Linked DNA regions of Homo sapiens: region 2 is linked to region 1. The links are contacts of gene promoters, found by promoter capture Hi-C in human tissues and cell types (Jung and others, 2019). All regions are on one chromosome and are shown on one strand. The core of a region is centred on a gene start or on the middle of the fragment in contact, and the rest is flanking DNA. Distances in the headings are between cores, read along the strand shown.

What was found. Contacts are between HindIII fragments. The study calls those that stand out against the background at their distance.
Region 2: a fragment that was not itself captured here is called in contact with the fragment with the promoter of GLI2 in region 1 in 2 of the 25 tissues and cell types used here (IMR-90 fibroblasts and neural progenitor cells).

The regions. Positions count from the first base shown.
Region 1 is chr2:120,734,415-120,739,150 of GRCh38, forward strand. GLI2 (GLI family zinc finger 2) reads left to right here and starts at 1,454. Exons shown (of 14, transcript NM_001374353.1): 1 at 1,454-1,871. LOC124906073 (a long non-coding RNA gene) reads left to right here. Exons shown (of 3, transcript XR_007087219.1): 3 at 1-436. LOC124907881 (a long non-coding RNA gene) reads right to left here and starts at 3,247. Exons shown (of 2, transcript XR_007087221.1): 1 at 2,147-3,247. RefSeq lists enhancers at 83-730, 1,370-1,539, 2,658-3,158, 3,159-3,659, 4,066-4,736. The HindIII fragment of the contact is 8,822 bases long and covers 1-4,717 here.
Region 2 is chr2:120,894,427-120,899,240 of GRCh38, forward strand. The region is part of intron 2 of GLI2 (GLI family zinc finger 2); the gene reads left to right. Among named protein-coding and RNA genes, the nearest start is that of GLI2, 160 kb to the left of the region's middle. The HindIII fragment of the contact is 4,519 bases long and covers 794-4,814 here.

The DNA.
Region 1 (4,736 bases), core at 204-2,703:
TGGCGCCATCATGGCTCACTGCAACCTCCATCTCCCAAGGGGTTTGAGAGATTCTCCAGCCTCAGTCTCCCAAGTAGCCGGGATTACAGGCGCGCGCTACTATCCCTGGCTAATTTTTTGTATTTTTAGTAGAGACGGGGTTTCACCATGTTGGCCAGGCTGGTCTTGAACTCCTGACCTCAGGTGATCCCCGTGCCTCGGCCTCCCAAAGTGCTAGGATTACAAGCGTGAGCCACCGCGCCCGGCCCAACAGGGCAAATTTAACTGAACTTACAGTACAACCACCCGAAGCTCTGGGAGGATGGCAGAGTGCTCTGACCTTAGACTAGTTACTTAACTTTTTAAAGCATCAGACTTCCCACCTGTAAAAACACGAGAAGAGAACCTTCCTTACAGAGCTGTGAAAGTCCAATAATACAAAGAAAATATAACATCACCTGGCACTTGGTAGAGTGTTCTACAAACGTTAGGAAGAATAAAACCAGAAATTCCCCCCAAGACCCTCTTCGGGTGAGGCCCAGGGGCCCTGGAGAGGGTGGCAGGCCCGGGGGTGTGGGGAGGACACTTTAGCCAGCTGCCCCCAATTCTCCTCCAAGCCTGGCGGCCCAGTTCCGGGCTGTGGTGTGGCTTGAGGGCCCAGGGCTCCTCACTGAGCTTGCTTAAGCAAGTTCTTTCACACACAGCCCCATATACACTTTGGCTAGAAAATTCAATGAGGAGTTTTTTCTTCCTTCTTTCTCTGTTGTTGTTGGGTTCTGATTACTTCCATCTGGCTTCAGCGGCTCGAGTGGAGTCTCTAAAACACACAACACAACAAAACAAAAACCCACCCTGCAAGCCACATGCACCAAACCTAGAAGGCTGCTTCGTTTCTCGCCAGCGTGTGCTCAGATGGCGACGAGGGCTAGCGGCGGCGGGGGACGCCTCAGGACCCCCGGCACCTGCGCTCGCTGCCCGCGGGAAGAGGGTCCGCGTGGACCCAGCCCCCGCGTCCCTTCTCTGGCGTCCCCGGCTTCCGCGCGGGCGTCCAGAGAAGCGGGCGCCCTGGGAACAGCGACCCAGGCATCTCCCCGAGGAGGGAAGTGGGAGGTGGGGAGGGCGGGGGGATTTCAGAGATTGAAAACAGAGCAGCCCTTGCCCCTCAGCTCCGGAGCTCATCTGACTTGAGTTAGCGACACCCCCAACCCCCCCCCCCACACCTAGTCGTCTAAAAAAAGTGTCGGAGATTGGCGCGTCCTTTGGTTCCTTTCTCGAACTTTCCTTGTAGGTGCGTTTTCTTTCCTTGGTGCTGGGTGGGGAGAGTCCCTGTGCTCCCCCTTTCCCCTCCCCCCGCCCCGGCGGCGTTCGGGTCCCCCTGCGTCCCCCGGCAGGGAGCGGGCGGGCTGGCTGGCGGGTTCTTGGGGCCCGGGTGTGCCCGCACCGTGCGCGCGGGGGCGCTGCGCAGTCCGGCGGCGCTGATGGATTGCAGAAGTGCCGGCGCTTGCCAGCCGAGGCAGCACGGCTCCGCGGACTTTTTTTCAAACTCCCATCAATGAGACTTCGAGGAGGAGCGGGCGGCGGCGGCGGCTGCGACTGCGAACGCGGAGGAAGGCCAGGAGCCGCAGGAGGAGCCGGAGGAAAGAGCTTGGGCCGCGCGGCGCGCCGCAGCCTCGGGGAGCCGCCTGCTCGCCGGCGGTAGGGGCTGCGCGGCGCCCGCCCGCCTCTCGGTCCCCTCTCTTGCCTGGCCCGCCCCGCCCCGGCTGGCTGGAGCCCCGGCACAAGGCAGCCAGCCGAGGGTCGCCGCGCCAGCCAAGGTGGGATGGGGGCCCACAGCCACCGCCCGGCGCCCGAGAGGCCACCTGCGTGCTAGAGGCAAACTTTTGTCTCTCTCGGTAAAGTTGCATTGGCCTTCTTTTGCTTGCTTTTCGTGACGAAGCGCCTCCCACCTCGGCCAAGCGCGGGCCGACTGGGATGCTGCGCCGTCTCGGGGGGTCCCTCGGCCGGGTACCGGCGCCTAGGCCTTGGGATCGGGGCCCTGGGCTTCGGGGGACTAGAGGCTAGTAGGCGCGACCCCGCCTGGGGCTCTGGACGAGCAGGGCGGGGACGTAAGGAGAGTCCTGGGGCTTGGAGCTCGTGGCCAGAGGTCGATGTTGCACCCTCTCCCTACCTGGGGGAGAGCACCACTCTTCTCGGGGTGCACAGCGAGCCGGCCTCCGCGCGCCGGCGGGGGTCTGTTTTTTCAGGGGGTGGAGGGTGGGATCGGAGGCTGGGATGCTCCGAAGCTGCCGTAGGTGGGCATGGGAGCGTGTCTGCGGGCGTACTGAGCGCGGAGGGGCTGCAGCCAGCCACTTGAGAACTTCGAACTCCACTTCTCCGCGCTGCGCGTCCCGGAGCCCTGCCTTTCTTTCTTCCTTCCTCAATCCTTCCTCCCCCTCGCCCGGCCCGGCCGCCCCCTCCCCCTCTGCTGGGCTCTCCTCCTCGGCCCCCCCTCTTTGCCTCTCTTCTCCTCCTCTCCTGCCCTCGGCCCTGAGATCCGCTTGACTTCCCAAAGGGATCCGCACGTAATCCTTTGCCGGGTCCTCCGGTTCCCCCTTCCACCTCACTTTCATCCCTGCCCCCCTACTCATCGTCTCTCCCCACCCCCGACAATCTCTCAACAAGTATATTTGCTGAGGAATTTGAAAAATCCACTACTGCAACTTGATCTGTATGTGATGGATGGGGAGAGGCGCGGAGAGAGTTGGGCGCCAATCCTATTAAGGGTTTAGAGAGGGGAGTCTTTTCCCCGGACGGGGCGGGGGCGGGGAGCTGGGAGGGAGCGTGTGCTTGCGTGTGTGAGTGTGAGCGCGCCCGCCGCGCTGGAGAGCTGGGAGTCCACCCAGCTCGGCGCCTTTTCAGCCCGGCGGTAACTGCTGTCATTTCCTAGGAAACCCGACTTTTACCGCGCGGGGAGCTGGGGATGGAGCCCGTGCGCCTCACCCTGGGTGATCGGTCGCTGAGGCTCTCGGGGACCTCGAGCCCCCCCGAGGGTGCCTCTTTCCACTACCTTCTCTTTTGTGTAATTGTTCTGTGGCTCCTAGAGTTGATCCCAGCTGGAAAAGTAGACCTGTCCCTACTGTCTGGTCCCGCGCCCTGGGAGTCTTGTAGGCGTCCCTCTGTCCCCCAGCCCGGGCATCCCGCTCGGTGCGCGACCTCTGGCACGGGCTTTGCAGCTCGGTGGCCGCAGCGGTGTCCCGGGCCCCCTCTCCGCCGCTCTTGCCGGGCGTGTGAAGGTTTAATCCCGACAGCTTCAGATAAAGGGAGCAGTTGTAAAACGCTCATAGGCTGTTTGCAGACGAGGCTCTGGGGGATGTAGGAGAATTTGAAAGTAAACGTTTCCCTCGCAAGCAGCATAAAATAGTGTTTAAACAAATATTGTATTGGCATGCTCAGGGGGCTCGGTGCCAAAAAGTAAAGTAAATAAACTGTGAAATCCAAAATATACAGCGGGGAAAGCGGAGGAATAGGCGGGTTTGTCACAGGCCTCCCTGATGAGACCAGTTTGTTCCAGCCACCTCACCTGCCAGCTTTCTCTCCGCCCATTTCCTTACCTTGCTGGGAGTTCCCTTGGCTGGGTTTCCCTGTGTCTGGGGACAGGCCCTCCCTGGGGCCTGGGAACGGCTTTGCAGTTGCTTGTTTAGGGGGAAGCTCACGGTGTGGCTACCTGGGCCTGACTCCACAGGGACGGGGGGCACCTTGGCTATGCCTGGCTGCTTTGAGTTTGGAGGCTCTTTATTTAGGCTTTTCCCAGCTTCTGGTCTGTCCTGGGGCAGTCATTCTAGAATGTGGAATCCAGATCCATCAGGGGCCTTCTCTTCTTTTTGACTATGCTTCTTGTGCCTCTTTCTTCATCGTTCTTGCTTTTGTTTTCCTAGACTTGCTGCTTCTCTCTTGAGGGTTACAGGAAATTGTGGAGATGTTTTTCCCTGGGATTCGAATTCCACTCAAGCCCAGCCATATGGAAAGTTGTCGCTTGTCTGATGAGTTTTAAAGTTAATTATATTTGGTAAGATTTAGGGTGGTTTTATTTTCTCCTCTGCTTCGAGAAATATGCCAGTTTCACGAAATTGTTTCGTGATTTTAGGGGATTTAAGCTAATACAGGGAAGATCCTGCATTTGAAAGAGCCCAGCTGCCCAGGAGGTATCCCTCAGGTGAACCAGCCTTCAGTTGGGCTAGCATCTGAGTGAGAGACTGTGGTCAGAACGGTCTATTTGCAAAGCCTCTTGGAGAGAATTAGAATTATAGGTAGAAAGAATTAGAATGATAGTAGAAAGAGCCTCCCAAGCCACCGAGGAACAAGGTAAGACTGCTAGAGATGGTTTTATCCTCTGTGGGAATCGATTTGACTGAATTTGCAGTGGGTTCAGATTCCTTCAGCAGAGACTTCCGGGCTGCTCCCAAACTCATTCTGCTCTGGCCTTGAAGGGGACTCTTGACTCGTGGCTTCCTTGAAGCTTGTGTGGAGTTAGCGAGGCCCTTGTGGCCAGGCAGCCTTGGAGTGGAGTGCCACTTCACTCTCCCAGGGATGCTCTGGTCCACTGGTGGAGAGAGCACCGAATGCAGAGTCAATCCTTTGAGTTGCTTGGTCAGAAGAGGGGGCCGCAGGGCTTCTGGTCAGTGGCTCATTGCCTGGCTGCGGGGGTCTTGGGGGCTGTGTACTGTAGCTGGCTTGTTTGCACTGCAGACTGAAAAATACACAAATACTTCACGCTTTTT
Region 2 (4,814 bases), core at 1,803-4,302, 160 kb after region 1:
GTATACGCAGCCTGGGAGTCTCCAGTGCTCAGAGTGCCTGCTCTGTTCCCTCCTGAGCATTCTGTTCCCTTCTCACTCTCTTTCTAGAGCGCCAGTGTGGGATCAGTTCTTACTGCCAGGGGTGGGGGCTAATCTGTGTCTTGTGTCCTTGAGGACCACAAATGAAGACATGCATTAACCCTTGGGGGGGGGTACCAGTGATTTCAAACCGCCCCCCCATAAATCCCCCCACTTCCATTTTACCTCTTTCCTCCCATATGGTTTTCTTTTCTTTCTTTTTTTTTTTTTTGAGACAGAGTTTTGCCCTTGTTGCCCAGGCTGGAGCGCAGTGGCGCGATCTTGGCTCACTGCAACCTCTGCCTTCTGGTTTCAAGCGATTCTCCTGCCTCAGCCTCCGGAGTAGCTGGGACTACAGGCGCCTGCCACCAAGCCTGGCTAATTTTTGTATTTTTAGTAAAGGCAGGGTTTCACCATGTTGACCAGGCTTGTCTTGAACTCCTGACCTCGTGATCTGCCCGCCTCAGCTTCCCAAAGTTCTGGGATTACAGGCGTGAGCCACTGTACCCGGCCCAGTATGGTTTTCTTTCTAGTGCCTCAATGGGTGCCTCCTTGAGGACCTGGCTGATGGGGAGGGGAGGGGAGGGGCTCCCCGGTGGAGGCTTGGGCCACCAGGCTGTGGACACTGCATGGACCTCAGCCATCCCTGCAGGCTGGCCTGGCTTCCCTCTGTGTCAGCCTTTCCAGCGTTTGCAGCCAGCAATTCTCTCCTTGGAAACTGGGAGGGAAAAGAAAACAACAACAATGAAAAAACAACAACAAAACTAAACGTGTGAACTTGGCTGTAAGTATGGAGCAGAAAAGTTTTGCTTGGATGTGGCACTGGGGAACTGATGGAAGGAACAGTCCTTTGTTAGAAGGGGAGGAAGGGGAAGTGAAGTAGTCTCTCCTTAGAATTGGGGTGAATTGTTATGAATAAAAAATACATACTTCTCAGGGCTGGATGCAGTGGCTCACACCTGTAATCCCAGCACTTTGGGAGGCCAAGGCAGGCAAATCACCTGAGGTCAGGAGTTCGAGACCAACCTGGCCAACATGGTGAAACGCCATGTCTACTAAAAATACAAAAAGTAGCTGGGCATGGTGACATGGGCCTGTAATCCCAGCTGCTCGGGAGGCTGAGGCAGGAGAATTGCTTGAACCTGGGAGGTGAAGGCTACAATGAACTGAGATTGCACCACTGCACTCCAGCCTGGGTGACAGAGCGAGACTCCGTCACAAAAAACAAGAACAGAAACAATAACAAAAACAAAACAAAAACATGCTTCTCAGTAAGTTTCCCTGGGAGGATGGGCCCGGAACCCAGAGACACTTCGTCTGGTCACTGGTCTCCCCTCGTCTTGTAATCCCTTCCTTGCCTCTTTTTAAAAGGAAAGGTTTGAGCCCACTGTGGTTGCTATGGTTTTCTAACCAACACCTTGATATTTGCAAAGGGCTCTGAAGTCATTAGAGCTATTTCTTGCTCATCACCTCCTGGTGAGACAGATGTGACTCTCCCCTCCCATTTTATGGGTGAGGAAACTGAGATTGGAGAAGGCAGACAAGGGCCAGGGTGTCCTGGAGCTGTGTGAAGGTTCTAGGGTTGTGATTCATCAAGCCAACAGTTAGAACTGTCATAGTTTTCCTGTCCCTCTCTGTCCCTGAGTGATCTTGGGCAGGTTGGTTCTCACCTGCCTTGATGGTCTGTGGATCTCATAGCATTAAGTGTGGCTCAGATTTCTCCCTCCCTTCTTTCCCCCACCCTCTCTCCGCCCCACCCTGAGGTCAGCCTGAAGGCAGCCCCCTAGCCCCACCCCAGGCCTAGTGGGAGACTCAGACACACCAGGGGTGTGGGTAGGCGAGGGCCATGACCCCAGAAGGCTGTTTGGGGTCCAGAGGGAGCCCAGAGGGGCCCTGTCTTCCCTGCCTGAGGCAGGGTGGGATCCGGCATGTCTCAGAGATATGAGTATTAGCCAGGCCCACCAAGCTGGGGTGGGGGGGTATTGACAGTAATAAGGAGGTGGTTTCTGTTCTGAAGGGTGAAACTCTGAAGGCCCTAGTGCTGGTGTGGTGGTAACAGCAGTAAAAATTTTAGCACCACCAACAACTGGCATTTTGTTTTGAAGGTGGAAGTGTCAACAGGTCTCTACCATGGCTTCCTTTGAAAAACACACATACACACACACACACACACACACATACACCCACCCCCCCACACACTCACACACACCCATACACACACACACACACACACACACACACACACACACACACAGCCTTCTTCGGAGGCCTTGGCCCTTTTTCTCAAGGAATCCCCAGCTTGGGCGTTAATCCCTCAAGAGTCACCAAGAGTTAACTCTTGAGAAGCTCGTTTATTCATTTTTACCCTATGTAGTTCTACAGGCAGCCTCCAAAAATGCATAGTGTGTAACAGGGCTGAACAAAAAGTGGCGGAGATCAGGGGAAAGAAAAAAAGGGGATCATGAAATAGAAATTAACAAGTTGAAGTTGAGGCCAGTGCTTGCCTAGGGGCAGGGGAGGAACGTGTCCACCTCTGTCCCAGGTGGCCTGTGTGAGGGAGAGGGGCTGGGGGAAGAGATTCCTGCACTGTTCCCCATGGGGCTGCCTGCGGGCACATGCCTCTCCCCAGCACCACCCCCACTGACACGCTCCAGCCGCCACGCCCTCTCCATCACAAATGTGGCCACAGCTCCTGGTCTTGTCCGGGTCAGCCTCAGAAGTAGCAAACTCCCCGTGTTGACTTCCTGTTAGGGGAACGAGGATTCCATCCTTTGAGTCCTAAACCTCTGAAACAGCATGGGCCCCTGCTCCCTGGCTCTGCCCAGAGTTGTCAGAGATTCAGAGAATCGTCTCTCAGTTTTGCTCAAGAGCCTGAACACTACCGCTTTCCTACTAAAGGCTAAAAATAAATTTTGAAGCAATAAAGGTGATCACAGTAGAGACAGTTCTCCACTTACAATGGCTCGACTTTACTGTGGGTTTACTGGGGCATGGTAAGTTGAGGAGTAAATGTGTTACTTTGTAAGGAGGGCAAAGATTGTAGGCACAGGGTTTTTGGAGGCCAGGGGATTGATTCTGTTGGGTTTCTAGTCTCCTCTGGATGACATCACCAACCTGAAATCCCTTACCTGTGTCATAACAAAGGACACTTTGTGTAATTTTCTTAGATACTCACATCTTTACCACTCTATTCTGGAAAAAAATACCCATTTAGGCCTTGCCGTTAACATGTCTGATCTCAGGCCTGAAGATCTCTTAGAGACTCAGTTTCCCTTTCTGTACAATGAGTGGGTTTGACTGATACTCATGCTGAGCTGGTATCTTTTATCCTGTATTTATATAACATGGTCACCTCTTTAGGGTGCTAACATTTTATGAGACCTCTTTAAGGTGCTAAAGTCTCATGATATCATCCAGTAACTCTACCCCATGAAGGGACATTTTATTACTCATTAGGCATCAATGTCAGGTTCAGCAAGTCTTATCTTGATGCTGACCCTTGGGAACTGCACCTTTCTGCTTTCCACCGTTCAGAGGAGTTGATACACTGTGATTTTCAGTGAAGGGGGACCACAGGTCCCCTTCACCTGTGGTCTTTTCTTGTTGCTGTTTTGTGGAGTGGTTTCCATCCACCCCCTACTCCCTCGAAATTAGGGTTAAAACGCAATGGCATAAGGCACTGATATAGATTAAAACACACACACACACACACACACACACACACACACACACAAAATGATTGTCATAAAGAAAATCATTCCAGTCCTGTGAGTTTGGGATTATATTTTCCCCAGACATTTACTGTGTTTATAGAGAAAAATAAATATCTCTGTAAACATGTGTTGTATTTACAGTGAAAATAAATATCTAAATAAATATTAAGCTTTTAAAATTGGAGCACTCGCAGAAGGAAATGCAAATGGATGTGAGCGAGGGCTGCCTCACTTGGGGCGTGCATGCCTGGATTCGCACTGAATTGGGGTGCGTTTGTCTTTCTTTCCAGCTCGGAGTGCAGAGCCATGCTTCAGGGAGGGGAAATGAACATTTATGGAGCACCCACTATGGGCTCGACACTTTACAAAGAGAGCTTCATTTTATCACCACCCGGCTCTGGGTGGCAAGGAGTATCTGTGTTACTTTGTAAAGAGGGCAAAGATTGTGGGCACAGCGTTTTCGGAGGATTCTGTTGGTTTCTAGTCTCCTCTGGATGACATCACCAATCTGAAGTCCCTTGCTTGTATCATAACAAAGTGTCCTTTGTTATTTTCTCAGATAGAGAAAATAGATGAGGAAACTGCAGCTCAGAGAGGTGAAGCGACTTGTCCAAAATGACAGTTACCAGTTGGGGTAGCTGGATGTTGTTCTCACCCAGAATGAAAGAGCAAGTTATGGAACAAATCTGTACATGGCTGCTGGTGCTAAGACTTTTCTAAATCCAGGACCAGGGTTAGAAAAGCCAGGAGCTATGGCAGTTGTCAGCACGTGGCACCTCCAGACACAGAAACGAAAGGGTCTGCGGTGGAGTCCTTTTTCCTCTACTCCCTCCGGGAGGGCCTGGCTGCTCACGCATTTACGCCTCTCTCCAAACACTGGGTCCTTCACTGGAAACTCCTCTGAAGGACAGCAAGCCTCCTGCACCCCGCCAGGAGAGCTCTTTCCTGGAGATCAATCTGCAGAGAGCAGGCTCATTGTGAGCCATTGTGAGCCAGAGCAGGCTGCAGCTGGGCCTCATCTGTGCATTTGTGTTTTACAAGCAG